6 separate regions of the Homo sapiens genome follow, and all the other regions are linked to region 2. Evidence: promoter capture Hi-C in 16 types of primary human blood cells and fetal thymus (Javierre and others, 2016). All regions are on one chromosome and are shown on one strand. Each heading gives the region's core, a stretch centred on a gene start or on the middle of the fragment in contact. The rest is flanking DNA. Distances are from core to core; before and after follow the strand shown. Region 1 has its middle 11 kb from the start of TXLNG. Region 2 holds the start of ZRSR2 (zinc finger CCCH-type, RNA binding motif and serine/arginine rich 2). Region 3 overlaps CTPS2 (CTP synthase 2). Region 4 overlaps LOC124905249 (a long non-coding RNA gene). Region 5 overlaps CTPS2 (CTP synthase 2). Region 6 holds the start of FANCB (FA complementation group B).

Evidence for each region. Contacts are between HindIII fragments. The CHiCAGO score rates a contact against its expected background, and 5 or more counts as called.
Region 1: a contact is called between a fragment that was not itself captured here and the fragment with the promoter of ZRSR2 in region 2, in 2 of 17 cell types (total CD8 T cells and total CD4 T cells). The highest score is 6.1, in total CD8 T cells.
Region 3: a fragment that was not itself captured here is called in contact with the fragment with the promoter of ZRSR2 in region 2 in 4 of 17 cell types (non-activated CD4 T cells, fetal thymus, total CD4 T cells and 1 more); the score reaches 9.4 in non-activated CD4 T cells.
Region 4: a contact is called between a fragment that was not itself captured here and the fragment with the promoter of ZRSR2 in region 2, in 8 of 17 cell types (total B cells, fetal thymus, naive B cells and 5 more). The highest score is 11.1, in total B cells.
Region 5: a contact is called between a fragment that was not itself captured here and the fragment with the promoter of ZRSR2 in region 2, in 1 of 17 cell types (erythroblasts). The highest score is 5.0, in erythroblasts.
Region 6: the fragment with the promoter of FANCB here is called in contact with the fragment with the promoter of ZRSR2 in region 2 in 1 of 17 cell types (total CD8 T cells); the score reaches 6.5 in total CD8 T cells.

Annotation. Positions count from the first base shown.
Region 1 is chrX:16,773,389-16,777,954 of GRCh38, reverse strand. No RefSeq gene overlaps it. Among named protein-coding and RNA genes, the nearest start is that of TXLNG, 11 kb to the left of the region's middle. The HindIII fragment of the contact is 6,934 bases long and covers 1-4,566 here.
Region 2 is chrX:15,788,635-15,793,167 of GRCh38, reverse strand. It overlaps ZRSR2 (zinc finger CCCH-type, RNA binding motif and serine/arginine rich 2), which reads right to left and starts at 2,684. Exons shown (of 11, transcript NM_005089.4): 1 at 2,632-2,684; 2 at 2,155-2,234. The coding sequence starts at 2,672. RefSeq lists enhancers at 1,197-1,698, 2,357-2,806. The HindIII fragment of the contact is 2,263 bases long and covers 1,898-4,160 here.
Region 3 is chrX:16,678,896-16,683,373 of GRCh38, reverse strand. CTPS2 (CTP synthase 2) reads left to right here. Exons shown (of 19, transcript NM_175859.3): 9 at 148-280. Among named protein-coding and RNA genes, the nearest start is that of S100G, 31 kb to the right of the region's middle. The HindIII fragment of the contact is 4,462 bases long and covers 528-4,478 here.
Region 4 is chrX:16,444,688-16,449,237 of GRCh38, reverse strand. All of the region lies in intron 1 of LOC124905249 (a long non-coding RNA gene), which reads left to right. Among named protein-coding and RNA genes, the nearest start is that of MIR548AM, 180 kb to the left of the region's middle. RefSeq lists enhancers at 1,641-2,166, 2,167-2,692, 3,762-3,961. The HindIII fragment of the contact is 2,987 bases long and covers 1,758-4,550 here.
Region 5 is chrX:16,636,176-16,640,611 of GRCh38, reverse strand. It overlaps CTPS2 (CTP synthase 2), which reads left to right. Exons shown (of 19, transcript NM_175859.3): 14 at 1,369-1,465. Among named protein-coding and RNA genes, the nearest start is that of MIR548AM, 11 kb to the right of the region's middle. The HindIII fragment of the contact is 843 bases long and covers 2,743-3,585 here.
Region 6 is chrX:14,870,124-14,875,020 of GRCh38, reverse strand. FANCB (FA complementation group B) reads left to right here and starts at 1,952. Exons shown (of 10, transcript NM_001018113.3): 1 at 1,952-2,035. MOSPD2 (motile sperm domain containing 2) reads right to left here and starts at 1,600. Exons shown (of 15, transcript NM_152581.4): 1 at 1,484-1,600; 2 at 1,263-1,332. The coding sequence starts at 1,492. RefSeq lists a silencer at 1,633-1,862. The HindIII fragment of the contact is 4,870 bases long and covers 357-4,897 here.

The DNA.
Region 1 (4,566 bases), core at 1,385-3,884, 980 kb before region 2:
GAGACCCTGTCTCAAAACAATTAAAACAATTTTTTGTTTTGACAAACTGAGACCCTGTCTCAAAACAATTAAAACAATTTTTTTTTTTGAGGCGGAGTCTTGCTCTGTCACCCAGGCTAGAGTGCAGTTGGCACGCTCTCGGCTCAATGCAACCTCCGCCTCCCGGGTTCAAGTGATTCTCCTGCCTCAGCCTCCTGAGTAGCTGGGATTACAGGTGCAAGCCACCACGCCCAGCTAATTTTTGTATTTTGTGATCCCAAAGTGCTGGGATCACAGGTGTGAGCCACTGCGCCCAGCCGAACAATTTTTTCAAGTTTTTTTTTTTGTTTCATTTTGTTTTAAGAAACAGAATCTCTTTCTCTGTGTTACCCTGGCTGGAGTATAGTGGTTTTCATCCTAGCCCACTACAGCGTCAAATTGGGCGACAGAGTAAGACCTTGTCTCAAAAAAAAAAAAAAAAAAAGAGAGAAAAGAAAAGGGCTGGGCTCGGTGGTTCACGCCTGTAATCCCAGCACTTTGGGAGGCCAAGGCAGGTGGATCACCTGAGGTCAGTAGTTCGAGACCAGCCTGGCCAACATGGTGAAATCTCATCTCTACTAAAAAGAAAACACAAAAATTAGGCCAGGCACGGTGGTTCATGCCTGTAATCCCAGCACTTTGGGAGGCCAAGGTGGGCAGATCACTTGAGGTTGGGAGTTCACGACCAGGCTGACCAACATGGAGAAACCCCGTTTCTACTAAAAAATACAAAATTAGCCAGTCGTGGTGGCGCATGCCTGTAATCCCAGCTACTTGGGCCGCTGAGGCAGGAGAATTGCTTGAACCCGGGAGGCGGAGATTGCGGTCAGCTGAGATCGCACCATTGCACTCCAACCTGGGCAATAAGAGTGAAACTCCATCTTAAAAAAAAAAAAAATTAACTGGATGTAGGGGCGCGTGCCTGTAATCCCAGCTACTTGGGAGGCTGAGGCAGGGGAATTGCTTGAACCTGGGAGGTGGAGGTTGCAGTGAACTGAGATCGCACCACCGACAGAGCAAGAATCCGTCTCAAGAAAAAGAAAAAAGAGAAGAGAAGAGAAGAAAAGAGAAGAGAAAAGAAAGGGGAACCATCCTGGCCAACCTGGTGAAACCCCGTCTCTACTAAAAATACAAAAAATTAGCCAGGCATAGTGGTGGAAGCCTGTAATCTCAGCTACTCGGGAGGCTGAGGCAGTAGAATCCCTTGAACCCAGGAGGCAGAGGTTGCAGTGAGCTGAGATTGTGCCACTGCACTCTATCCTGGGCGACAGAGTGAGACTCAAAAAAAAAAAAAAAAAAGAAAAAAGAAAGAAAAAAGAAAAAGAAAGAAATCAGCATCCAGTTTAAACCACTGTAATTCTGGATTTTTCTGTCACTTGCCATCAAGCTGATTCTGAAATCACAGAAAGATATATATAGATTTGCTTCTAGGGAAGAGGGTCTATGCTTTTTCACTCACAGTCACACACACACACACACACACACACACACACACACACACAGATGCTCACTTCCTCCCATCATCACATCATCCTCTCTAAATGGTTGTTTTCATTTTGTTAATTTAATATCTTAATTTTTTTTACATTATTTTCATGTAGATATTATTCACAACCTAGTTGTATAGTATCCTATTAATAATTTCTTTTTTATGTTTCTTTTTTCTTTTTTTAAAATTGAGATAGGGTCTTGCTCTGTTGCCCAGGCTGGTCTCAAACTCCTGGACTCAAGTGATCCTCCCACCTCAGTGGGAGCCACGGTGCCCTGCTCCATGTTTCTTATCTTTTCTCTTCTATTTTCCTATATCCTGTTTTGCTACAGACAGTTCCAGGGTTACAATTTTTGATGTTGCGATGGTGCCAAAGTTGTATGAATTTGACTTTGAGTACCCATACAACCATTCTGTTTTTCACTTTCAGTACAAGTATTCAATAAAGCACATGAGATATTCAACACTTTATTATAAAACAGCTTTGTGTTTGATGATTTTGACCAACTGTAGGCTAATATAAGTATTATGAGCTTGGCCAGGAGTAGTGGCTTACGCCTGTAATCCCAGTACTTTGGGAGGCCGAGGTGGGCAGATCACCTGAGGTCAGGAGTTCGAGACACACCTGGCTAACATGGTGAAACCCCATCTCTACTAAAATACAAAAATTAGCCGGGCGTGGTGGCTGGCGCCTGTAATCCCAGCTACTTGGGAGGCTGAGGCACGCGAATCACTTGAACCTGGGAGGCAGAGGTTGCAGTGAGCCGAGATCGTCTCACTGCACTCCAGCCCGGGCAATAGAGCAAGACTCCGTCTCAAAAAAACAAAGTATTATGAGCTTACATTAAGGTAGGCTAGGCTAAGTTATGATGTTTGGTAGGTTAAGTGTATTTTTTTTTTTTCCGAGATGGAGTCTTGCTCTGTCTTGCCCAAGCTGGAGTGCAGTGTCACCATCTTGGCTCACTGTGGCCTCCACCTCCCAGGTTCAAGCAATTCTTCTATCTCAGCCTCCCGAGTAGCTGAGACTACAGGCATGTGCCACTACACCTGGCTAATTTTGTATTTTTAGTAGAGAAGGGGTTTCACCATGTTGGCCAGGCTGGTCTCGAACTCCTGACCTCAGGTGATCCACCCGCCTTGGCCTCTCAAAGTGCTGGGGTTACAGGCATGAGCCACCACGCCCGGCCAGGTTAAGTGTATTAAATGCATTTTCCACTTATGATATTTTCAACTTCTGATGGGTTTATTGGAACATAACGCCATCATAAGTCAGGAAACATCTGTACTTTGTAGATGATCTCAACTTTGTCTTCTAATACTACTAATGAAGTTTTGATCAATGTCATATTTTATTTACTTTTTATTTAATTATTAATTTGTGAGACAAGTCTTGCTCTGTCACCAAGGCTGGAGTGCAGTGGTGTGATCATAGCTCACTGCAGCCTCTACCTCCAGGGCTCAAGTTGAGGCAGGAAAATAGGATCTGGAGGTAGGGAATATAAGGCCGATTCACACTTCAGCTATGACAGGAAATAGCCTCTCCATAGGGCGTAGGCCAAGTAAATGATTGTAACTTTACTTTATCCTCTTCATTTACATAGGGCATACCTCAAGTAGAGGTTATTTTTAAACTCCCAAAAATTCTGAAACAGGGCCTTTGAGCTATGCTTGGGCCTGCTCAAACCCTGTGGAGTGTACTTTCATTTTCAATAAATCCCTTCATTCCTTCCTTGCTTTGTGCGTTTTGTCTAATTCTTTGCTCAAGACGCCAAGAACCTGGACACTCTTCCCGGGTAGCAAAGTGATCCTCCCACCTCAGCCTCCCAAATAGCTGGGACTAGAGGCATGCACCACCATGCCTGGCTAATTTTTATTTATTTATTTCATTTTATTGGTAGAGACTTGGTGTTACTATGTTGCCCAGGCTGGTCTTGAACTCCTGGGCTCAAAGGATCCTCCCTCCTTGGCCTTCCAAAGTGCTGGGATTGGTGTGAGCCACTGCCCCCAGTCTGCAGGACAATTCTTTTTTTTTTTTTTTTTGAGACAGAGTTTCACTCTTGTTGCTCAGGCTGGAGTGCAATGGCCCCATCTTGGCTCACTGCAACCTCTGCCTCCTGGGGTCAAGCAATTCTCCTGCCTCAGCCTCCCAAGTAGTTGGGATTACAGGCATGCACCACCACCACGCTTGGCTAATTTTGTATTCTTAGTAGAGACGGGGTTTCACCATGTTGTTCAGGCTGGTCTTGAACTCCTGACATCAGGTGATCCTCCTGCCTTGGCATCCCAAAGTGCTGGGATTACAGGCGTGAGCCACCACGCCAGGCTGACAATTCTTGAAGAGTAAATAGCTTTTCCCATCAAAAGGAATCAAGATTCCTTGAAGAAATGCCTGCTTCCAGGTCTGAGGAAAGGAAATGTAAATTATTACCGATTTTTCTTATTTTTCCTACTATGTTAAGCACAGAAATTCCCAAAAACATAACCACAAATAGTTAAAAAAATATATAAAAAAAAGATGGCCAAGTGCGGGTGGCTCACGTCTGTACTCCCAGCACTTTGGGAGGCCAAGGCGGGCGGATCACCTGAGGTCGGGAGTTCGAGACCAGCCTGACCAACATGGAGAAACCCCGTCTCTACTAAAAATACAAAATTGGCCCGGTGTGGTGGCACATGCCTGTAATCTCAGCTACTTGGGAGGCTGAGGCAGGAGAATCGCTTGAACCCGGGAGGCGGAGGTTGCGGAGAGCCGAGATCACGCCATTGCACTCCAACCTGGGCAACAAGAGCGAAACTCCGTCTCAAAAAAAAAAAAAAAAAAAGATATAGCCGCCATTTTGGTGTAAGCCTCCCGAGTCTTTTCTATGCATATGAGGCAGGAGAATAGGGTCCGGAGGCAGGGAACCTAAGGCCGATTCAAGCTGGCTTTCTAGAACTAAGTCAATGGCCGGGCGCGGTGGCTCACGCCTGTAATCCCAGCACTTTGGGAGGCCGAGGCAGGCAGATCACCTGAGGTCGGGAGTTTGAGACCAGCCTGACCAATATGGAGAAACCCTGTCTCT
Region 2 (4,533 bases), core at 1,435-3,934:
GTAAAGTAGCTGAAAATTTCAAGGGGGGAGAGACGAAGTACAATAAGGGCCTCAATAACTCCAACCTATTCTACTTTTCCTTTTATCCCTGATGCTTTGTTCTGCCTCTAGTGGATGAGTTTTCAACTAATAAGACAGAAATGCTAACACAGGTTGCAGTTAAACACACTGCTCCTTCCATTCTAAATATCCCAGTACTGACACTAAAATAATTACTCAGGAACACCAATGGTAAATAAAACCTCTATGGCTATGTTTCTCAAGGTCCAAGAATCCTAGTTACTTGAGGCCATGGTCTCTGGATTTTAAGAATTGTCTAGGATAATTTCATGAGCATATTCTGGATAATGCGGATGACAATCATTATAAGCCAGTACTACTGTGTGATTTCAGTGCTCCCATCTGGATTTATAACTACTACATAATTTTATAACTAAGTCCTAATTTTATTGCATTAAGCAGGTAGATTTAATACATAAATGTTAGGTTTTGCCATGTGAAGGTCAAATGACCATCTGTACAAATAAAGGTTCTACAGTAATTTCATAGAAAAAGTGGTAAATAACTATAAGGCAACATTAGTAGAGGCATTCCAAACTCCCATCAGTGCCATATACATATTGTGAGGAGCATTAGTTTCACATCATCCCTAGCATTACCTGATGTAGATTTAAATTTTACCGAATGTGTAATTTCATTTAGTTTTATAATTTATAAATGTATTTTTATTTGTTTGTTTGTTTTTTGAGACAGAATCTCACTCTGTTGCCCAAACTGAAGTGCAGTGGCAGGATCTCGGCTCACTGCAACCTCTGCCTCCCAGGTTCAACTGATCCTCTTGCCTCAGCCTCCTGAGTAGCTGGGATTACAGGCACCTGCCACCAAGCCCAGCTAATCTTGTATTTTTAGTAGAGGCAGGGTTTCATCATGTTGGCCAGGCAGGTCTCGAACCCCTGACCTCAGGTGATCCATCTGCCTCGGCTTTCCAAAGTGCTGGGATTTCAGGCATGAGCCACCACGCGCCCAGCCCATATATTGTTTTATAGTCAAACAATGGCTTCAGGTCAGGTGTGGTGGCTCATGCCTATAATCCCAGCACTTTGGGAGGCCGAGGTGGAAGGATTGCTTGAGGCCAGGAGTTCGAGACCAGCCCAGGCAACACAGTGAAATCCCGTCTCTACGAAAATTTTAAAAATTAGCCAGGTGGGCCAGGGGCGGTAGCTCACGCCTTTAATCCCAGCACTTTGGGAGGCTGAGGTGGGTGGATCACCTGAGGTCAGAAGTTCGAAACCAGCCTGGCCAACATGATGGGGTTTCACCCCATCTCTACTAAAAATACAAAAATTAGCCGGGTGTGGTTGCGCACGCCTGTAATCCCAGCTACTCGGGAGGCTGCAGCAGGAGAACTGCTTGAACCCAGGGGGCGGAGGCTGCAGTGAGCCAAGATCGTGCCACTGCACTCCAGCCTGGGCAACAGAGCGAGACTCCGTCTCAAAAAAAAAAAAAAAAAAAAAGAAAAGAAAAGAAAAAATTAGCCAGGTGTGGTGGTGAATGCCTGTAGTCCCAGCTACTAGGGAGGCTGAGGTGGGAGGACTGCTTGAGCCTGGGAGGTGGAGGCTGCTGTGAGCCGTGGTTGTGCACATCCCTCCTGGGCAACAGAACAAGACCCTGTCTCAAAAATAAATAAATGAGCTTCATAACTAGTATTATGTTGATATATATTTGAATAACATAATAATTTGGGTAAACCAAGGGTCTCATATTAGTCAAGTTTGAGAAAAACTTGCAAAACGTCTAATTAATACCTTCAACTCCTGCTGGTTTTACGAAGAAAAACATTCACCGAATACTTACTACGTGTGCAAGGACTGTGCTAGCTGCTGTAATTCATGAAGCTTGCAACTGTAATATTAGATACTTTATAAGTTACACAGAATCAGTGGGCGATCATTCACCAAGACTTCCTCTTCCTGCCTTTAGTATGTTAACATTGTTTCTGACATGTGTTTCTAAATAACTACTTGGGGGCAGAAGTCACAGCTATTTTTCCTCCGACACAATATTTGACTTCCTTCTGACACTGGGGCTTCAAGTTAGGGCTGGAGTGGACAGAGCAATTTCACAACACAGAAAACAGAATAAAGAGTCCATCACCTGAGTCTCTCAGTCGAGCAAGTTCCTGCCGACGTTTCTTTCGTTTCTCCTTCTTCAGGGCGGCCCTGTACTTTTTGTGGCTGGAAGATTAAGACATATACACGACGATCAGCGGCTACAATGCAGCGCTGCCCGAGCTCCCCGCTCCTCTGTGCCCAATGAAAGGAAATAGTTCGGGTGCTGAGGAGAGAAACCTTGCTTCCTGTATTTTAATTACAGAACAGCCATCTATCATCGCCTCATCCTCCCACTCCCAGACAGTTCTTCTCCATCCGCCAACCTGATCCTCTCCTCGCTTGCCTGAGCCACAGCCGCCCGTGCAAGTCCGGGGAGGGCACCAGAGCGCGCACCAGGAAGGAATGGAGCTGCCGCGGTGGCTCACTTAGCTTGGCCCAGCTTCTCTTTTCTTCCTGCCACCACATCCTCCATGCCCACGATCGGCCCGCTCGCCTGCTCATCTCCCCGTACGGCGCTTACCTTGGTTTCTCGGGAAACGTCATCTTCTCGGGCGCAGCCATCTTGCCGGCACCGCCCCGCCCCTCCAGGTCTGGCAGGAAAGGGCGGGCCTAAGAGTCGAGACGGGCACGCGCAGGCGCGGGTACCGAGCAACCTCCACCAGCGTGGGACTTGAAACGGAAAGCCGGAGGTACCCTTCGGCGGCTCGTCTTCCAGAACCCTGCTCAAATAAATACCTCCTTCCAGCAAAAATACTCTGGGGCTTTTACCCCGCCCTAGAAGTAATTGTCGCTTCAGCACTTGCCCAGTGCTGTATCACTGTCTCCCTCCTCGCCCTAGCAGGACGTGTTGTGGCTAGGCGGTTAAAGTCGTACTCTGCCGCTTTTCTCAGCATCCACTCATGAAGTCACATCGCGCACAGAGCTGCTCGCCCGGCTTTATTTCCGACCTGTCCAGGTTCCGCGTCCTTCCGCCGATCCACCTATCAGCGCCTCAGACAAAGCTCCAGACTTCGCTCCCTGCCAGTCACACCTGTTCTGGTCCCTTAAGCAAACCTAACTCCCAGGGCTGCAAAGCTGTTACCTCTGCCCCTGAGGAGTTTACAATCGAGGGGGCAGAGAAGAACCAATACATAATATGATGCAGGCAAAGATGAAGTTTACCTAACATAGTCCACCAAGGGATTCAGGGAGAGCTCTCTTTTTTTTCCTTTTTTCTTTTTTTTTCAGTATCACATGCGACTCAACTGCAGTATCAGGGACAGCTTTCTGATGCTAAGAGTTGAGTTTGGAAAGAAGATGCCCTTTACCCAGAAGGAGAAGGGTGGGAATGCAGTTACAGTCAGATCAGCATAAGCAAAGGCGCTGAAAGGTGAAAGTGGAATATGCTGGGAACAGCAAGAATTTTGGCAATCGAATTTATTTATTTATTCATTTCTTATATATTAGAGACAGGGTCTTGTCTTTCACCCAGGTTGGAGTGCAGTGGCGCAATCACGACTCGCTGCAGCTTCGACCTCCTGGGGTCAAGCAATCCTTCCACCTCAGCCTCCCGAGTAGCTGGGAATACAGGCGCGAGCCACCACGCCCGCCCAGCTATCCAATTTAAAGTGCAGTTCGAGGCTGGGTGCAGCGGCTCACGCCTGTAATCCCAGCACTTTGGGAGGCCTAGGCGGGTGGATCACCTGAGGTCAGGAGTTCGTCAGCCTGGCCAACATGGTGAAACCCCGTCTCTACTAAAAATACAAAATTAGCCGGGTGTGGTGGCACATGCCTGTAGTCCCAGCTACTCTGGAGGCTGAAACAGGAGAACTGCTTGAACCCAGGAGGTGGCGGCCGCAGTGAGCCGAGATGGCACCACTGCCCTCCAGCCTGGGCAACAGAGCAAGGCTCCGTCTCAAAAAAACAAAACAAAATAAAGTGCAATTCGAGAATATCAAGGAATATAGTTGTTGTGATGGGCTGGGAGGGCTAGGTTAAGGAGGGCCTGGTGTGCCATGTTAAGACGCTCTGTTTACATTCTGTAGAGACAACAGTGAACCGTTGAAAGCTTTTTAAATAGAGGCTTATTGTGGTTGTGTTTGTGTTTTAGGTAAATCACTCTGCTTTGCAATATAAAGGATTTAAAAGATAAAACTAGAGTATCACAATAATCTAGGTGAGAGGTGTTGAGGAATTAAACTGGGGCAATGAGAGTAGGGATTGAGAAACTAAAAATCATCCCAACTAATAATCAGACTGTAATGTACACATACAAGGCCAGGGACAAGGCCAAGCAAAAAATGTTCCTCACAAGGATGCATTACAGCTGTAAAATGACTAATAACCTCTATCTTTTGAGTGATTGAATAGCTTCCTTGGCCTACCTTTGTTCCGTTCTCCTCCAAATTAAAGTTTCTGAGATACTCAATTACTAAACTGCCTT
Region 3 (4,478 bases), core at 1,509-4,008, 890 kb before region 2:
CTCTCGCCTCAGCCTCCTGAGTAGCTAGGACTACAGCTGCTCCCGAGGATTTAAAAAGTGCCTTGGAGTAAGAGCAGCAGCTGCCATTGTTCTGTTTGTGATGTTCTGTTATGTGCATATAACCTTTGAGTTTGTTTTCTTTCCCAGGTATGAAAGGTTACAGAAAATATGCTCCATAGCCCTGGTTGGCAAATACACCAAGCTCAGAGACTGCTACGCCTCTGTGTTCAAAGCCCTGGAACACTCAGCCCTGGCCATCAACCACAAGTTGAATCTGATGGTGAGTCCTGGCCTGGTCTTTTGGCTATCTCAGTAATTCATGCCAATAGCACATGTTCCAGAGGGGCAAGTTTTGTTAAAGGGTCCCTGAGATCACCTGCAGGACTTACGATTCACCAGAAGAACTCACAGGACTCATCATATAGTTATACTCATAGCTAAGATTTATTATAGCCAGACAATGCAAAGCAAAATCAGCCAAGGAAAAGTCGTGCAGGGTGAAGTCTAGGAGTAACCAGGCGCAAGCTTCTAAGTGCTCTCCCCTGGTAGAGTCCAGTGAGTTGTGATAATACATGCAAACTGCCATTTACTAAGGAAGCTCATTGAAGACTTGAAGCCCAAGGTTTTTACTGGGGGCTGGTCACGTAGGCACCCTCTTCTTAGCACTTCCCAAAATGCCAGCCTCCCAGAAGGAAAGCATGCAGCAGAAACCATGTTGTCTGTACAGACACTTTCAGCACAGTGAGCTTCTCCTATCAGTTCTTGGAATGATGGGAACCCTCCCAAAATCAGAGTTTCCAGAAGCCAGTCAAGTCTCAATCTTGTAGCAGGCCTTTCCAAGGGCAGCAGCCAGGCTTGCTGTGTAAACGGTTTTCTTTTTTCCTTTTTTGAGACACAGTCTCCCTCTGCCGCCCAGGTTGGTGTGCAGTGGCATGATCTCGGCCCACCGCAACCTCTGTCTTCACCGTTCCAGCAATTCTTGTGCCTCAGCCTCCTGAGTATCTGGGATTACAGACTCCCGCCACCATGCCCAGCTAATTTTTGTATTTTTAATAGAGACGGGGTTTCACCACGTTGGCCAGGCTGGTCTCGAACTCCTGATCTCAGGTGATCTGCCCGTCTTGGCCTCTCAAAGTGCTGGGATTACTGGCATGAGCCACTGTGCCTGGCCTGTGTAAGCTGTTTTCTACATGTAGGTTTAAGGCACATTTCTGAAAGTAGGCTTTGCACATTCAGATGAATGAGCATGCTTGTCATGCTCGTTTAAGTACGTCGTAATTGCCTAACAGGAAAATAATAGGACATTTTTTCCCTTTAGCATTGGAATGGAATCTAGATTTTTTAAAATACTATATTCCCCTCTCTAACATGGAGGAATGATAGCTAGCAAACAGTGATTATTTGTTTTGGAAACTCAGTATTGTGGAATAACAGAGGCGTAGTTATCTTATATAGCTTGAGTATATTCTTCCATATAAGAACGGAAGTAGTACATGTTTAGAGTAAAACATTTAAACAAAGCATAAGCCAGGCGAAGTAGTTCACGCCTGTAATCCCAGCCCTTTGGGAGGCTGAGCCAGGTGGGTTGCTTGAGCTCAGGAGTTGAAGACCAGCCTGGGCAACAATGGGAGACCTCATCTCTATAAAAAAAACTTAAAAAGTTAGCCGGGTGTGGTGGCATGCGCCTGTAGTCTCAGCTAATTGGGAGGCTGAGGCAGGAAGATCACTTGAGCCCAGGAGTTTGATACTGCGGTGAGCTATAATTGCGCCACTGCACTCCAGCCTGGGTGACAGATTGAGACCCTGTCTCCAAAAAACAAAACAAAACAAAATAAAGCATAAATCTAAAATGCAGAAAGCAGATTCCTCCTCCCTGAAATCCCACTTGTTACCAGTTGGATACGTATATTTATATATCTATCTCACATTTATATTTAATGATATTCAGTATGAGTATATCATTGTTTAAGCAAGTCTTATCATCTTGACTTAAATGGCAAAAACTTTGTATAATGAGTAAAAAGATCCATTTATATGTTAAAGAAATTTAATGGCTTCCACTTTGACACTAGCTTAGGAGAACTAGCTGCTGTTTCTCTCTCCTCTTTTTAGCCTCCTTCTTTCCTAATCACTTTTTAAAAATTTTATTTTATTATTTTTTAATTAATTAATTAGTTAATTACTTTTTAGATGGAGTTTTGCTCTTGTTGCCCAGGCTGGAGTACAGTGGTGCCATCTCAGCTCACTGCAACCTCTGCCTTCTGGGTTCAAGTGATTCTCCTGCCTTAGCCACCCGAATAGCTGGGATTACAGGCATGTGCCACCACGCCCAGCTAATTTTTGTATTTTTAGTAGAGATGGAGTTTCTTCATGTTGGCCAGGCTGGTCTCGAACTCCTGACCTCAGGTGATCCACCTGCCTTGGCCTCCCAAAGTGTTGGGATTACAAGCGTGAGCCATCGTGCCTGGCCTATTTTTTAATTTTTATAGAGACGGGGTCTCGCTATGTTGCCCAGGCTGGTCTCGAACTGCTCAAACAATTCCTCCTGCCTTGGCCTCCTAAAGTGCTAGGATTACAGGCGTGAGCCACCATGACCAGCCCCTAATCACTTTTTACTTTTGGCTTTCTAAGGAATAGTTTACTTCCCATTCCTCCCACTCCTTCAAGTCGCCCGCCCCATTATGTAAAAAAAAGAAAATGGCAATGGAAAAATTGCCATGACATATACATTTTATAAAGCCTTTAGAAATTTGTATCTTAAAGTTTATTTGAATAGTCTTTTTTTTTTCTTTTCTTTTCTTTTTCTTTTTTTTTTTTTTGAGACAGGGTCTCGCCCTTTCTCCTAGGGTGGAGTGCAGTGGTGCGATCTTGGCTCACTGCAACCTCCACCTCCGGGGTTCAAGCAATTCTTGTGCCTTAGCCTCCTGAGTAGCTGGGATTACAGGTGCCCGCCACCACACCTAATTTTGTTATTTTTAGTAGAGACAGGGTTTTGTCATGTTGGCCAGGCTGGTCTTAAACTCCTGGCCTTAAGTGATCCACCTGCCTCGGCCTCCCAAAGTGCTGGGATTATAGACGTGAGCCACTGTGCTTGGCCAGGAGAGTCATTTTTACAGAAGAAATACTAAACTAATATAGATAGAGAGGGACTGTTATATACATAAGAATTGGTGCACATGATGCTTCATCTGATAGGATTCATTGACATTAGCTTCTCCTAAGTACTGTTTGAATCCTGGCCTTGTCATCTTCCTTCTAAGATTGGGCTGCATCTGTCTATCTCTCCTGGTTTGCTGCAGCTGCAGCGGCTTCCGGGCTGGTTTCCAGCTGCCAGTCTTCCCTGCCTTTGCCACACTCTACCAGAGTGATCATTGTAAAATCTTTCTCGGTTCTCTCTGTTCCTGTCGTCCCTTTACTTAAGATCTTTCAGTGGTGTCTCAGTCTGTTCAGGCTGCTGTAACAAAGTACCATAGACCAGGTGGCTTACAAACAACTGCCATTTCTCTCTCACAGTTCTGGAGGCTGGAAGTCCAAGATTAGGGTGCCAGCATGTGGCCGGGTTCTGGTGAGGGCCCTCTTTTGGGTGCAGAGGACCAACCTCTGGTTATATCCCCATGTGCGGAAGGGGTGAGGGAGGTCTATGGGGCCTTTTTTATAGGGGCACTAATCCTATTCCTATGTGCTCTGCCTTCTTGACCTAATCATCCCTCAAAGACCCCACCTACCTCCTAATACCATTCCTTTGGGAGTTGGGATTTCAACATAGGAATTTTGGGGGAACACAGACATTCAAACCATTGCAATTGGCTTCAAGTGTCAAGTCTGTGTCATGGCTTCTCAGCCTCGTCCCTTGCCTTCCTCCAACCAATCAGGTCTGTCCTCTCGCTGGGTGGGGCCTTTTTTGAGGGTCCCAGAGTGGCTACCACTTTCTCTCTTTTTCCTCTGAGGTTTCATATAAGTGGTTCCTTTGCTGGAGATTTCTTTTTTTTTTATTTATTTTTATTTTTTTATTTTTTGAGACGGACTCTCACTCTGTTGACCAGACTTGAGTGCAGTGGCACAATCTAAGCTCACTGCAACCTCTGCCTCCTGGGTTCATGTGATTCTTCTGCCTCAGCCTCCCGAGTAGCTGAGATTACAGGCACCTGCCACCATGCCTGGCTAATTTTTATATTTTTAGTAGAGACGGGGTTTTGCCACGTTGGCCAGGCTGGTCTTGAATTCCTAACCTTAGATGATCTGCCCACCTCGGCCTCCCAAAGTGCTGGGATTACAGGCATGAGCCAATGCGCCCGGCCTGCTGGAGATTTCATACCCTTCTCCCCTCCTCTCTTTGTCTCCTGCTGCCTCCCATCACACACGTGCTTATCTTGCTTCTGCTCTCCTCTCGGCTGGCTTCTTGAACATTACCTCCCCAGAGCTCTTCCTTGACGTCAATCCTTCCTGTCTTTCCTCCAGTGTTCAGTTCTAGTGACGTC
Region 4 (4,550 bases), core at 2,002-4,501, 660 kb before region 2:
CCAGGCTGGAGTGCGGTGACGCGATCTCAGTTCGCTGCAAGCTCCGCCTCCCAGGTTCACACCATTCTCCTGCCTCAGCCTCCGGAGTAGCTGGGACTACAGGTGCCCACCACCACGCCCAGCTAATTTTTTGTATTTTTAGTAGAGACGGGGTTTCACTGTGTTAGCCAGGATGGTCTCAATCTTCTGACCTTGTGATCCGCCCGCCTTGGCCTCCCAAAGTGCTGGGATTATAGGTGTGAGCCACCGCGCCCGGCCTCTTGATGGAATTAATGCCCTTATAAGAAGGGGAAGAGAGAGAGAGAGAGATCTGTCAGCTGTCTGTCTGCAACCCAAGGAGAGAGCCCTTACCAGGAACTGAATCAAACAGCAACTTGATCTGAGACTTCCAGCCTCCAGAACTGTGAGAAAAGTAAATTTTTGTTGTTGAAGTCACCCATTCTGTGGTATTTTGTTATGGCAGCCTGGGCTAAGATACCTACCATGTGCCAGGAACTTCCTGTATGTTGCTTTGACTAATCCTCAAAACAACTCTTCAAGGTAGGTATTTCTACCTGGCAAAGGAAACAGAAACAGAGAGGTTAACCACCTTGCCCAAGGTCACACAGCTAGCATGTGAGAAAATGTTTATAAAATGCCTAGTGCAGTATCTAGTACAGAATAAGCCCTCAATAGAGAGCTTTTTATAACTCAAAAGCTCATGTTGTTTTCCATATACATTCAGGTCACCATTTTGTCTGAGCTTGTAAGCTGTCTTTGTTCTTTCCACTCCATAGCTACCACTTGACACAGGGATTCTGACCTTATTGTGACATCCTGGAAATTAAGTTCAGCCAGAGGTGGCTCCTGACCTAAACAGAGAGCCCAGCCTCATTGTTCCTTAAAGTCTCTCTGAAGTAAGATGCCTCTGGAATAATAACCAGTAGTGATGGAATCCCAATCAGGAACCCAATGGGGAACTTTTCTTGAGAAACTCTTCCCCTAAGGCCTGAGCCTGGGTGCTACTTGACTGCTGCTCCATGGCTTACTATGGGCAAGGTCTGGAAAGCCTTGGAGAAGTCTAGGCAGTCACAGGTAGCAGCCAGTGTAGAGGATATTAGAGGACAGGGCCAACATAGGAGGTGGGTTCATAAGGCAAGAGGCTGGGGACAGACTCTTGGCTCTTCCTTGGATGGGTCCAAATCCCAGAGCTGGCCTTGCATTGGGAGAATGATCAGAGCAGGAAGGCCTTTTCCCAAGTCCTATCTGAGCCACACAGCAAACCCTGGGGGGCGTGGAGGGAGCGATGTACCTTTAACCCCAAGGCTGACCATATCTCCACGCCATGCCTGGGGTTTCTGCCATTCAGGGGTTCTGGGGTCCAGCAAGGGTGAAGTGAAGAAAACAGGAGGAAGAAGAGAGGAGAGGGAGAGCAGGGTGTTTGGAAGCCTCAGGATCTGGTAAGAAGAGGAGAAAGCAAAGAGCAGCAGGAGCCACGAACGCTTCATTTCCTGCTTGTCCTCCCTGCCTCATTCTTGAATGAGGATCTTGAAGTAATGAGTGAGGAGGATTTTCCTAGCTACTAGCATAAGGGAGTATAAGAAAATAGTAGATAAGGAATAAAGTCCAGAGCTAATAAGAAGCACCTTTACTGTTGAATTCTTCTGAGAAAATTTCAGAAGTAAAATTCCTAGGTAAATTTTAGTTTATGTTCCATTCTAGGGAAATGTCAGCCACTCTCCTCTAATTAACATTGCTAAAAGCTTAGAGTGAAAGCTTTCATTTCCTGTTGCTTTTTACATGGACTTGCCACAGCAATCAGTGTCTGTGTAGCTTTCCTTCCCTCGGCTCTTGGTGTTCTTTCTCTGACATTAAGAAATTCTCTTCCTGCATGGAACAAGTGTTATTTTGTTAAAACCGGATGCCTGTCATTTATTCCTTGCAACTGTAAACCAAAAAGGAACTGAGACAAGTCTCAATCAATGTAGAAGTTTATTTTGAGGGCCGGGTGCGGTGGCTCACGCCTGTAATCCTAGCACTTTGGGAGGCTGAGGTGGGTGGATTGCTTGACCTCAGGAGTTTGAGACCAACCTGGGCAACATGGTGAAACCCCGTCTCTACTAAAATACAAAAAATTAGCCGGGTGTGATGGCACACGCCTTAATCCCAGCTACTAGGGAGGGTGAAACAGGGGAATCACTTGAACCTGGGAGGCAGAGGTTGCAGTGAGCTGAGATCGCGCCATTGCACTGCAGCCTGGGAGACAGAGCGAGACTCCGTCTCAAAAAAAAAAAAGAAGTTTATTTTGAGAAGGTTAAGGACGTACTCATGACACAGCCTCAGGAGGTCCTGAGAACATGTGCCCAAGGTGGTTGGGCCACAGCTTGGTTTTATACATTTTAGGGAGACATAAGATATCAATCAGTACATGTAAGGTGTACATTGGTTTGGTCTGGAAAGGTGGGACAACTGGAAGTGGGGGCTTCTAGGTCAGAGGTGAATTCAAAGATTTTCCAATTGGCAATTGGTTGAAAGACTTCTTCTAAAGGCCTGGAATCTATGGGAGGGAGTGTCTGGGCTAAGATAAGGGGTTGTGGAGACCAAGGTTCTTATTATGCAGATGAAGCCTTTAGGTAGCAGGCTTCAGAGAAAATAGATTGTAAATATTTCTTATTAGACTTAAAAAGGTGCCAGACTATTAGTTAATTCTCTCCTGGATCAGGACGAAGACCTGGAAAAGTAAAGGGATTCTTTCCAGAATGTAGATTTTCCCCACAAGAGACAGCATTGCAGGGCCATTTCAAAATATGTCAAAAAATATATTTTAGGGTAAAATACTTCAATTTCTTTCAGGGCCTGCTATCTGTCAAGTGATGCTATAATAGAGTCAGGCTGGAATTCGGTGTCTTATTGCTACAAAGTCTTAAGATGTCTATTGTAATGTGAATGCTGGTCAGTTGTGCCTGAATTCCAAAGCAAGGCGGGTATAAGGAGGCATGTCCAACTATGCCCCCCACTGCCCCCCAACCCCGCCAGCCCCGGCATCCCATCATTGCCTGAACTAGTTTTTCAGGTTCTTTGGAATGTCCTTGGCTGAGAGAAGGGGTCCTTTCAGATGGTTGGGGGGCTTAGAATTTTTTTTTTAGTTTACACAACTAATATAAATTTTATCAAAGGTTTCTGATGGTTCACACAGAAGTCCCACGGTGCAATTCTCCACTGGAAGACATTTTTATTTCCTAGGGCTATTAGTTGGCTTACAATAAAAACTTTAAAGCACTTTTCTTTCCTGAGAAAATTGCTCTCTGAATCAATGGGATTGAGCATAGATAATGGAAAGAGACAGTAAGATGTTCTTGCCTGTAACCAAGCTCCTGTTTAGCGCTTAGTTTGTCTGTCCAACCTGGAGAATCATGGGATGCCCCAGGAATTGTTCCTGAGATTTAAGTTTCACATTGAGACTTTAGGGTTGTTTCCTACAGATTGACTCTTCCCAGAGTGGGTGATCCATCCATGGAACAACCTTGGGTGGGCCTGTGGGTGCATCCTTAAAACAAATGAGGGCTCACTCTGAATATAAGGCAAGATCTTTCAACTGTGGCACTATTGACATTTTGGACTGGACAATTTTGTGTTATGGGAGTGTCCTGTGCAATGTAGGATGTTTGGCAGCATCCCCGGCCTCTACCCACTAGATGCCAGCCTCCACCCCTAAGCTGTGACATCCAAAAATGTCTCCAGACACTGCCAAATGTCCACTGCAGGAAAATATCACGCCCTGTTGAAAACCACTGATCCAAAGCACCCGCAATTATTTATTCTGGTACAGTTGTAGAAGGCCTCGAACACTTTTCTTCAAAGGGCTGTACAGCCTTAAGAAACCACTAGAGGGCGAGCAGGGCTGCTAATTTGAGCTGCTTCATAAAGGTGTCACTGCAGGACTTGGCAGAAGCAGGGGGCCAAGGGACTCCCCTTGGGAGCTTGATGGAACCACTGAGAAGAGCAAGTCCTGCCATCCTAAGAGCATTAGGGAAGCAGCCACCAGTAAGAACGCACCCCTCACCCCAGGAGCTGAGAAGACCATGGTTATGAGGTGACTGTCAAGTGATGGGCTCCATCACCCAGGGTGAGGTAACCCTCTGTGAGGAGGGGTCAGCCAGCCTCTTCTGTCTCCTTGATGTGGTGTACTTAGTGTAGAGAGGAAAGAGATTATTGGTCTTATCTCGATTTTTCATGAAGGGGAGATAGCATTCAGTTCAATAAGTATTTATTTCATGTCTACTATTTATAAGGTTCTGTGTTTGATTATGGGGATATTGGTAGATTGCATAAATGGCCACAAATTATTTACCTGTCTGTATCCATGCCTTTGGGCAGTCCCCTCCCACATTGACTCTGGGCATAGCCATTTGATTTGCTTTGGCCAATGGGTCAATAGCAAATGTGATGCAAGCAGAGACCTGAAAGCTCTTGCTCACTGGGGCATATCCACTCTTGAGGCTCTTGGGACCCTGCCGCTGCTGTCGTGTGAGGAAGCCCAAGCTAGCCTGCTGAATGATGAGAGATCCGTG
Region 5 (4,436 bases), core at 1,915-4,414, 850 kb before region 2:
CAGGATAGGCTTTTCATAAAAATCACCTGTTTCTCAATTTCTGCAGTGCGATTGTGATCATAAATATAAAGCCACTCCGGCTCTCAAAGATTGACTGTCTCTCCCACAAAGCACTCGCCAGACACAAACTGAGAGAAAGGCAGGGATGGGGAAGAACCTCGTTCTGTGAGGGCACAGAGAGAGGACCCTGACTCAGCTATGGCTCCCAGAAATACCAGCTCCTGGAGTGGCTGATGTTGGATAGTGGAGCTAAGATTTCAGGGTTAAGCATGGTTTCATTTAGGAAAAGAGGGCAGAGGAATGGGAGGAGATTGTCCAGGCAGAGGGCACAGTGTGGGCCAAGTCGCCACGGCGGGAGGAAAGGAGATGCAGTTGAAAAACTCAAAGAACCAGCACTCAGGGTGAGAGGGGCAGGGAATATAAGATAAGGCTGGACGGTTAGGCTGGCCTGATACCATGAGGTCAAGGGTTTCAAGCAGGAAAAATGCCGCACTAAGATTTGCTGTGTGAATAGACCACTCTGCCTGCAGTAGGTAGGGTGTGCTGGGGCCATGGGAATGTTGAGTGGCCAGTCAGTGAGCCATTGCTGTAGCCTGGGAGAAGGCTGGAGAGAAGTGGATGGATGCGGGAATTCTGGAGGGGATAAATCCACAGGACTTGACAGAGTGGCTATGAGGGAGAGGGAGCGATCAAGGGTGCCACTTAAGTTTCCGACCTACAGAGTGTGCTAGACTGGATGATACTTCTTTCTTTCTTTTCTTTTCTTTTCCTTTTCTTTTCTTCTTTCTTTCTTTCTTTCTTTCTTTCTTTCTTTCTTTCTTTCTTTCTTTCTTTTCTTTTCCTTTTCTTTTCCTTTCTCTTTCTTTCTTTCTTTCTTTCTCTTTTTTTGGAATCCCTCTAATGGTTTTCTATAAATAGGTTCTTTTGGTATACCTTTCCACAGTACAAGTACTGATAGATTTGCTTATGGAAAATCTTTAGGGAATGCACTGGGCAGTGGGGGAAGAGGGTTATCATGAAAGATGTGAACACCGAAGTGGGAGGCCTCAGCAATCCAGATCTCGAAGTGTGAGGACTACTTGGAACTGATGGTTTGAGTAATGGCAGGAGGGACATCATCAAGATGCTCCTGATACATTGTTTTATAAGTGATTTAAATGAAAGATGAGAAGCAGATGGAAAGGAAGTACAATGTGCAGTGTGTCTATGTCATGCCTGTATTTGAACATGATCGTTGGAAAGACTGATCAAATGTTATAGTTTAGGGACCATGCTTACCCAATGATCATTCCTTTAAACGTAAAGCTTGAAATTTGGGAAATGACATTTTTACAAGATGGCAAAACTGGACTTGTTTTGTTTTCTAAGGTGATTGATATGCCCGAGCACAACCCTGGCAATTTGGGAGGAACAATGAGACTGGGAATAAGAAGAACTGTTTTCAAAACTGAAAATTCAATATTAAGTAAGTTTCCCATATTGTTTATTTTACAAGATGTTGGATGTGGCTCATGTGACTGCAGGTGCCCAGCACTCTGGGTGGTGGAGACTCCCCCTGCCCCTTCCAGCATCCTCGGAGGGCCCTGATTCTCTCTCTTCCCATCTCCCCTGCCCTCACTGACCCTCTGCTCTGGGCATTCTTCTCCCTAGTAAGCTTGTCCCTTGGGCTGGCCTCAGTAGAACACACTGAATGCCCCTCCGCATTTGATCTGCGTGACTCCCTGTTCATTGGGCTGTTTTGTGAGTTACCGATGCTCCTGGAGATGAACTTGGACTGGGACTTGGACTGATTCACACTCAGTTCTTTTGAATCCACAGTTCTCTCCATTACATTTGAACCGGTTCCCTGTTTAATGTCTGTTTGCCTGGTCTTAGTGACTCACAAATGAACTTCCGAGTAGGAGGGCAGTTATGCACCTCAGAAGCGTATTTCTCTGTTCCCTGGCAGCCCCAGTGTGGGGAGATGGCTCGCCATTTGATATTTGCTGATCTTTCCACTCCCCATAAGGTTAATTCTAATTTCTGTGGAACTTTTTCATAAATTAGCATATTATATAAGAATAACTTATTGTTTAAAACAAACTAAAGCCTTTAATTCAATTTAATAAATGTATCTTGAGTGCCCACTCTGTGCCATGTGCAGATATAATAGTGACCAGGACAGATACCAGCCCTGCCCTCCTAGGGCCTCAAAACAAGGGGAAGAAATGTGACAAAAGGGGAAGGCAGATTGCTAAGGGGACCGGATGCAGAGAGGGAGCTCAGGAATTGTGAGTGTTCAGTGTCATTTTCGTGAAATTATAAGAATCCCTTAGAATCCTGTGAAGTTATAAGAATTCTTTTTTTTTTTTTTTTTTGAGACAGAGTCTCGCTCTGTCACCCAGGCTGGAGTGCAGTGGCACGATTTCGGCTCACTGCAAGCTCCGCCTCCTGGGTTGACGTCATTCTCCTGCCTCAGCCTCCCGAGTAGCTGGGACTACAGGCGCCTACCACCGCGCCCGGCTAATTTTTTGTATTTTTAGTAGAGATGGGGTTTCACAGTGTTAGCCAGGATGGTCTTGATCTCCTGACCTCATGATCTGCCCGCCTCGGCCTCCCAAAGTGCTGGGATTACAGGCGTGAGTCACCACGCCCGGCAAGAATTCTTCAGAAAAATGCCTTCTTAACTCAAGAAAGAGTAAGACCAGAAATATGAGCTTTTCCTTTAAAGATGAATATAAACCTTCTAAGGAATAGAAAGCTTCCTAGCCAGAATGAAATTAAAAAAGGAAAGGCTTCAAAGTGAATACAGTTTCCTCCTTTCTCTGCATAAAAAGCCATTGTTCTCTAAGTCACTAACATTTTTCCTTACACATACTATATAAGAACTTTTTTTCTTCATGAATGTTAGCAATTCTGTAGCTTTCAGGTGTCTTCAGATTCTATGAAACTTTGTTCAAGTAATTGCCTACGTGACAAAAAATGGTTGGTGAAAAATTAATGTCCTAAAATTATATCTATTGAGAAAGATTCAGTGATAATTGTACTAAGTTTTTAAAAAGAGCATTGTACTCAATATAGTTAAAAATTTGATAGATATAAGTCTGATTTAAGATTTTTCTTGGCCAGTCGCACTGGCTCACACCAGCACTTTGGGAGGCTGTGGCCGGCAGATTGCTTGAGCCCAGGAATTCAAGACCAGCCTTGGCAACATGGGGAGACCCTGCCTCTACAAAAAATACAAAAATTAGCCTGGCATGGTGGCTCATGCCTGTGGTCCCAGCCACTTGGGAGGCTGAAGCGGGACGATCACCTGAGCCCAAGAGGTTGAGGCTGCAGTGAGCCATGATGGTGCCACTGCACTCCAGCCTGGGTAAAAAAGATTTGTTTTTCTTAGTGCTGGATGTGGTGTAATGTGCCTGTAGTCCCAGCTGCTTGGGAGGCTGAGGTGGGAGGATTGCTTGAGCCCAGGAGTCGGAGACCAGCTGGGCAACATAGTGAGACTCCGTCTCAATTTAAAAAGTAAAATTTGTTTTTCTTCACAGTAGACATAAAAATATTGATGATTTGATGATTTTCATGAATCTTAAACACAGCAGCAAAGCTTGTTTTGAAAAATTTTGAAAACAACTTTATTGAGATATAATACATCATATAATTTGTCTATTAGTAGTGTACAATTCACTGATTTTATTTTTTATTTTTTATTTTTTTTTGAGACGGAGTCTGGCTCTGTCGCCCAGGCTGGAGTGCAGTGGCGAAATCTCGGCTCACTGCAAGCTCCGCCTCCCAGGTTCACGCCATTCTCCTGCCTCAGCCTCCCAAGTAGCTGGGACTACAGGCGCCTGCCGGCTATTTTTTTTTGTATTTTTAGTAGAGATGGGGTTTCACCGTGTTAGCCGGGATAGTCTTGATCTCCTGACCTCGTGATCTGCCCGCCTCGGCCTCCCAAAGTGCTGGGATTACAGGCGTGAGCCACCGCGCCCGGCCCAATTCACTGATTTTTTTAGTGCATTCACAGAATTGTGCAACCATCACCGCAATTTTAGGATATTTTCATCACCTCCTGTAGAAACCCTGTGCCCATTAGCTGTCACCATCCCTACTTCCCGCCAGCCCCTGGCAACCACTAATCTACTTTCTGTCTATAGGTTTGCCCATTATGGACATTTCATGTAAATGGAACCATATGATTTGTGGTCTTTTGTGTCTGGCTTCTTTCTTTCTTTTTTCTTTTTTTGAGATAGTCTCACTCTGTTGCCCAGGCTGGAGTGCAGTGGCATGATCTCGGCTCACCGCAACCTTCACCTCCTGGGTTTAAGCGATTCTCCTGCCTCAGCCTCCTGAGTAGCTGGGATTACAGGCACCCACTACCACGCCTGGCTGATTTTTGTATTTTTAGTAGAGACGGGGTTTCGTTGGCCACACTGGTCTCGAACTCCTGACCTCAGGTGATC
Region 6 (4,897 bases), core at 703-3,202, 920 kb after region 2:
GTTACTAGCTCATTAGGTCGAATTCTGAGTTACTTCTTAAAATATTATAAACCATGTATTAACAGCTATAATAGTTACATTTCTGTAGAAAGCAATTGAAGAAGGATCTCTTTATTGGAACCAGCTATATTATTAGAAATGGGAACTCTGGGTGAAAAGTGAATCAAGTGCTTTTGCAACTCTCTGGAACAAAGTTTGGGGTGTGAAGAAAATTGGCAAGGAGGTATGAAAAGATTTACTGACAAGTATTTGAAACCGATTTCCATATTTGTTCTATGTCATCAACTGATGTATAATCTAGGATGGTTTAAAGTTGCAGGGAACCTCTGCTGAGTACTAGTCAAGATGTAGAAGCTTAACTCCTTTCACAGTAACCAAAATGACAACTGAGGCAAAATATTCACTGAGAATCCACTATATTTTAAGACATGCTAGATGGTTTATGTTTTTTTAAAAAATTTAATCCTACTAACTTTATTATTTGCACTTCACAGATATGAAAACGGGCTCAGAATAGACAAGTAAGCTATGTAGTGGCAGGGTTAGGATTACAATCAATCTTAAGGTAGGCAACATATAAATCCTTATTTAATTCCATATTTACAATAAGTTATTCCGTATGTTTTACAAAATTACTGTACAAGCATTAAATATTCAGTTAAGTACCTGACAACTCAAGTATCTGTGACATCTGGACACAGAATGTTCAACCAATAAATCAATTCTGGACTCATAGGTACTTTGCAAGATACAGTTTGGGATAAGAACTTGTTCCAGCATTGGAGGGCCTATTTTGTGGGTAGCATGCTGGGTTGTATGAAAGCCAAATCAAACAAAATATCCAAGGAATTTGTATACCCAATTAAGTACACATCAATAGTATTATGGCAGTTTCCAGGTACATTTTCGCTAGTGTTGCTGGTGAAAGGCCAGCAGTGGAACCGTGGACTGGACAATGTCACCCGTGTTGTGGGCCTAACAAGTATCCTGCAAGTTCCATAAACACGAGGGCATGCTAAAAACTTAACCGATTTCCAACTTACATTAACCCTTTAAAGGGAGCATGGGACACACCACTTGACCATTTGAAGCAGTGCACACGGCTTGTCATGGAGAGGAAAACCTTTGAGACGTGCCCAGCATCATTCCTGTGAGGGTCGAAAGGGTCCCTAACACCTCCCACAAATACACTCACAAACACTCCAGCAAAGTTGGGGATGCTCACTGCACACCTTTCTTAATACCTGGAACAGAGTACCCACCTGTCACATACTCAGCTTCGAACCTCCTCCGGGTCTCAGAGATGAGCTTGGCTTTATTCTGGGCGTGATTCTGGATGGGAGACACGATGGGACCTTAGATACTACTTGCATCAACCCGCTTACCCTCAACCCAGCCCACCTGCACACGGGCGCTCGGTCCCCGGGCCTCAGAGGCGGCTTCCGGGTCCGGGGGGCCAGCGGCGGTGCAATAGGCTCCTCACCTCTGCCATGATCACCGTCGTGGATGTGATTGCGGTTGTCGCCGTCGCCCGTTCTACCGTCGCCGACCGAGTATCTCATCACCCGGCAGTCCCGCCCAGAGGTAGACAGAGAAGGGTGGGAGGGGGAGGCGGTCGCGTGACACCGGAAGGCGGACAGAAGCGCCGCCGCACCGCCCAATCCAATGCGGACGCCTGGGTCTGGAGGCGGGACCAGGCCCTCAGCCTAGGTCCCATTCGATTCTCGTCTGGCCTCGCCCCGCGACATCCCCCGCACTGCGGTCCCGCCCCCGCCAGCCGCGAGATCGCCGGCGCTTCCCCCGCGGAGCTCCGCCCTAGAGAGCTCGCGGGCTCTCTGCTTTCACAACACTCCCCAGGGCCCCGCCTCCTCAGCCTCCCTTGGCCACCTCTCCTGGCTGGCTTCTAGGCTCCGCCTCCTCTGCGTTCGACGCAGCCTCCGCCCGGCCTCCCAGGATGCAGCGCGCTGGCGGGAGGTTTGGAGCAGATGGATACCGTATCGACGTGGGGCCTCCGGTATGTTGCCGCTGCGTTGAGGTAGGATGGGGCTGGCGAGTCTTCCCTTCCCAGGACTTCGCAGAGGGGGCGATGGGGCTGGATTTCCTCCCCTTGTCCCCGCATTGCGGGAGAGAGGGAAGGAAGCGGGCATCCCGAGACCTGGGTCTGTCATTCCTTGCAATGATAATTGGATTTTAAGTGCTACATTCGCTTGAAGTTTTTTTCATCCCTTCAGTATCCTTCCAACTTGGAGTGTGAGATGCTTAATGAGCAAAATATCTCTGAAATCTTTAATCTCAAATAATTATATAAAGTTAAAAAAAGCGTGTTTCGGCTTATTAAGGTAGTTGTGTTCAGCCGGGGGGGTGGGGGGGTGTGTGTGGGGGGGGCGGTTTTACCACCCAGGGGACCTTTGGCAACCTCTGGAGACATTTTTAGTCACCACTGCTAGGGGCCGGGGGCAAAAGAGATGCTCACTGGCTACTAGTGGATAGAGACCAGGGAAGCTGCCAAACATCCTCCAGTGTACATGAAAATTCACAACAGTTATCCAGCCCAAAATGTCAATAGTGTCAAGGTTGAGAAAGATTTAGATTTAAAGGGACTGGAACAAATTTTATTCGTCAGTTAAAAACAATTGAAAGAAAATAGTTGCGCATACAATATTGCCTTTTTTAAAGTTGAAAGATACTGAAAACTACAAACAAGTTGTAAGAATAGTCCCCCATATTTCCATCAACCGTAGTCATCCATGACAGAATGGCATGTTAGCATCTTTTGTCCTAGACTTTTAAATATATTTACATTTTTTATGGGAAAAAATGAACACATTGTTTAAACGTTGTTTGACTACATCCTTAAAAGATATTTCAGATATAACTAAAGTCTCCTTCTACCTCTACTCACCTATCCTGGACACTTCCTTGTCCAGAATCAACAGCATTCAGAATTTGGCATGAAATGTTTACAGTTTTACATTTTTTTATTTTGGATCATACTGCCTGGGTTTGAATCCTGGCTCTGTCACTTCTTATCTGCAAGCCTTTGAGAAGATCCTGAAACTCCTTGCCTCAGTTTCTCCATCTATAAAATGGGATAGTAACAGTGCCTATGTCATAAGGATGTTGTGAGGAAGAAACGAGTTAATCCAAAGTGCTTAGAGCAGTACCTGGCACTGTTTCTTCAGGAAAAAAAAAAAAAATAGTACATGGCACTATTTCTTGAGAAAGCACTCAGGGACTGTAGTCATTGTAGGTAAATAGAACATATATAATGCTGTTTTATTTGTTTTACATAAATAATATGCTGCAGTGTACATTTGTCTGCAACTTAATTTTTAATTCATTTTATTTTTGAAATTTAACCATGATTATATATATATATACACACACACACACACACATATATAGATAGATAGATCTAATTCATTCCTTTTAACTCTTGTTTGATAGTCCATCTATACTCATTCCCCTATTGGTGTTCATTGAGGTTTTTACTTTTTTTATATTGCAAATATCAGCACAGTGAGCTTCTAGAGCAATGTATTCATTCATATGTGGGATTATGTCTCTGGGTTTATATCTACAAATGAAACTACTGGGTATATGCATTTCAGTTGACTGCCAAATTACCTTCAGAGTCATCTCTCCCTTTTATTTAAGTACTCATAATTTTCTTCTAATTGTTAGCTCTTTTTCCAGTCTGATCTCACTCACACCTTTAACACTGTCACCAGGATCTTCATAACTCAAAAGTACAGTCCTGTGATTTCTGTTTTTGAAGTCTTTCAGTGGGTTATCATTACTTATATGAGAAATTTATAAGTCCTTAATATGACATAAAAATCTTCTTTAGCGTAATCTTCCCAAATCCTCTAATTTAGTTGATCACGATTCTCCCGCATTTACTCACATTTCAGGCATATTAGATAATGTTGAAAAAGGTGAGATCAATTCTGTATAGGACCCAATAAATAACTTATGTAGGGAGAAAAAAACTTTTAACAGTGGCCCTATTTTGTAGGAAAGTTAATTTACTTTGGTTAACAATGTCATATGTCTTGGAAAAACAACATCTATCATTATTATCTTCATAAAATTATGTTCAGTATTATTAGGTGCCATTTTAGTTGAGTGTCTTAATTTTACTTTTTTCCCAAGGATACTTTCTCTTGGTCACAGTTAATATGGTTTCTTAGACTTTTTGGATGTCATCTGCTCTTCTAGGATAATCTGGAACCACACTGATAGTTTATTTAAAGAATTGTCACATTTATAGGGCCAAAATGATTTATGAGCATTTAAAAAGAATGAACAACATATTTATTAAGAGGGGGGGCAGTAAAGAGTAGATGAGGATGATAATTTTATTGCCAGCCTACTATTTTTATGTTAGCATATGCTTGTATATATTATCATTTTTCTAGTATACACACACATCTGTTTTAATTTTATGTATAAAATAGATAGTCAACTTTGATGTATGGTAATATAGAACAGGAAAAGCTCAAATTAATTATGTAGTATTTTATAAATAATCTACTTTCTGGTCTCCACGCCCCGCCCCGCACCGCCACCCTGCCCCGCACCGCCACCCCTAGTTACTTCTGTATCTTCTGCAGCCACTGTTATAATGTTAATAAGTAAAAAGTCAAATAGCCCATAGGCTAGAATAGTAAACCTGGGGCCCTGATAAGCAGAGTTTAAAATAGTGAGGGGTTGCTTATAATTGGACTAAGAACCTGTAAATTGAACCTTAGTTTGATTTGTTTCCAGATATGTTTCTATTTTTTTTAAATGCCAGTTATTTCATGGCCTGCAGGTTTTATGAACATATCCCAAGAACTTTAAAAATAGATGTTGCAGCAGCAATACTTAATATCTACTGTCTTAGCAGTTACAC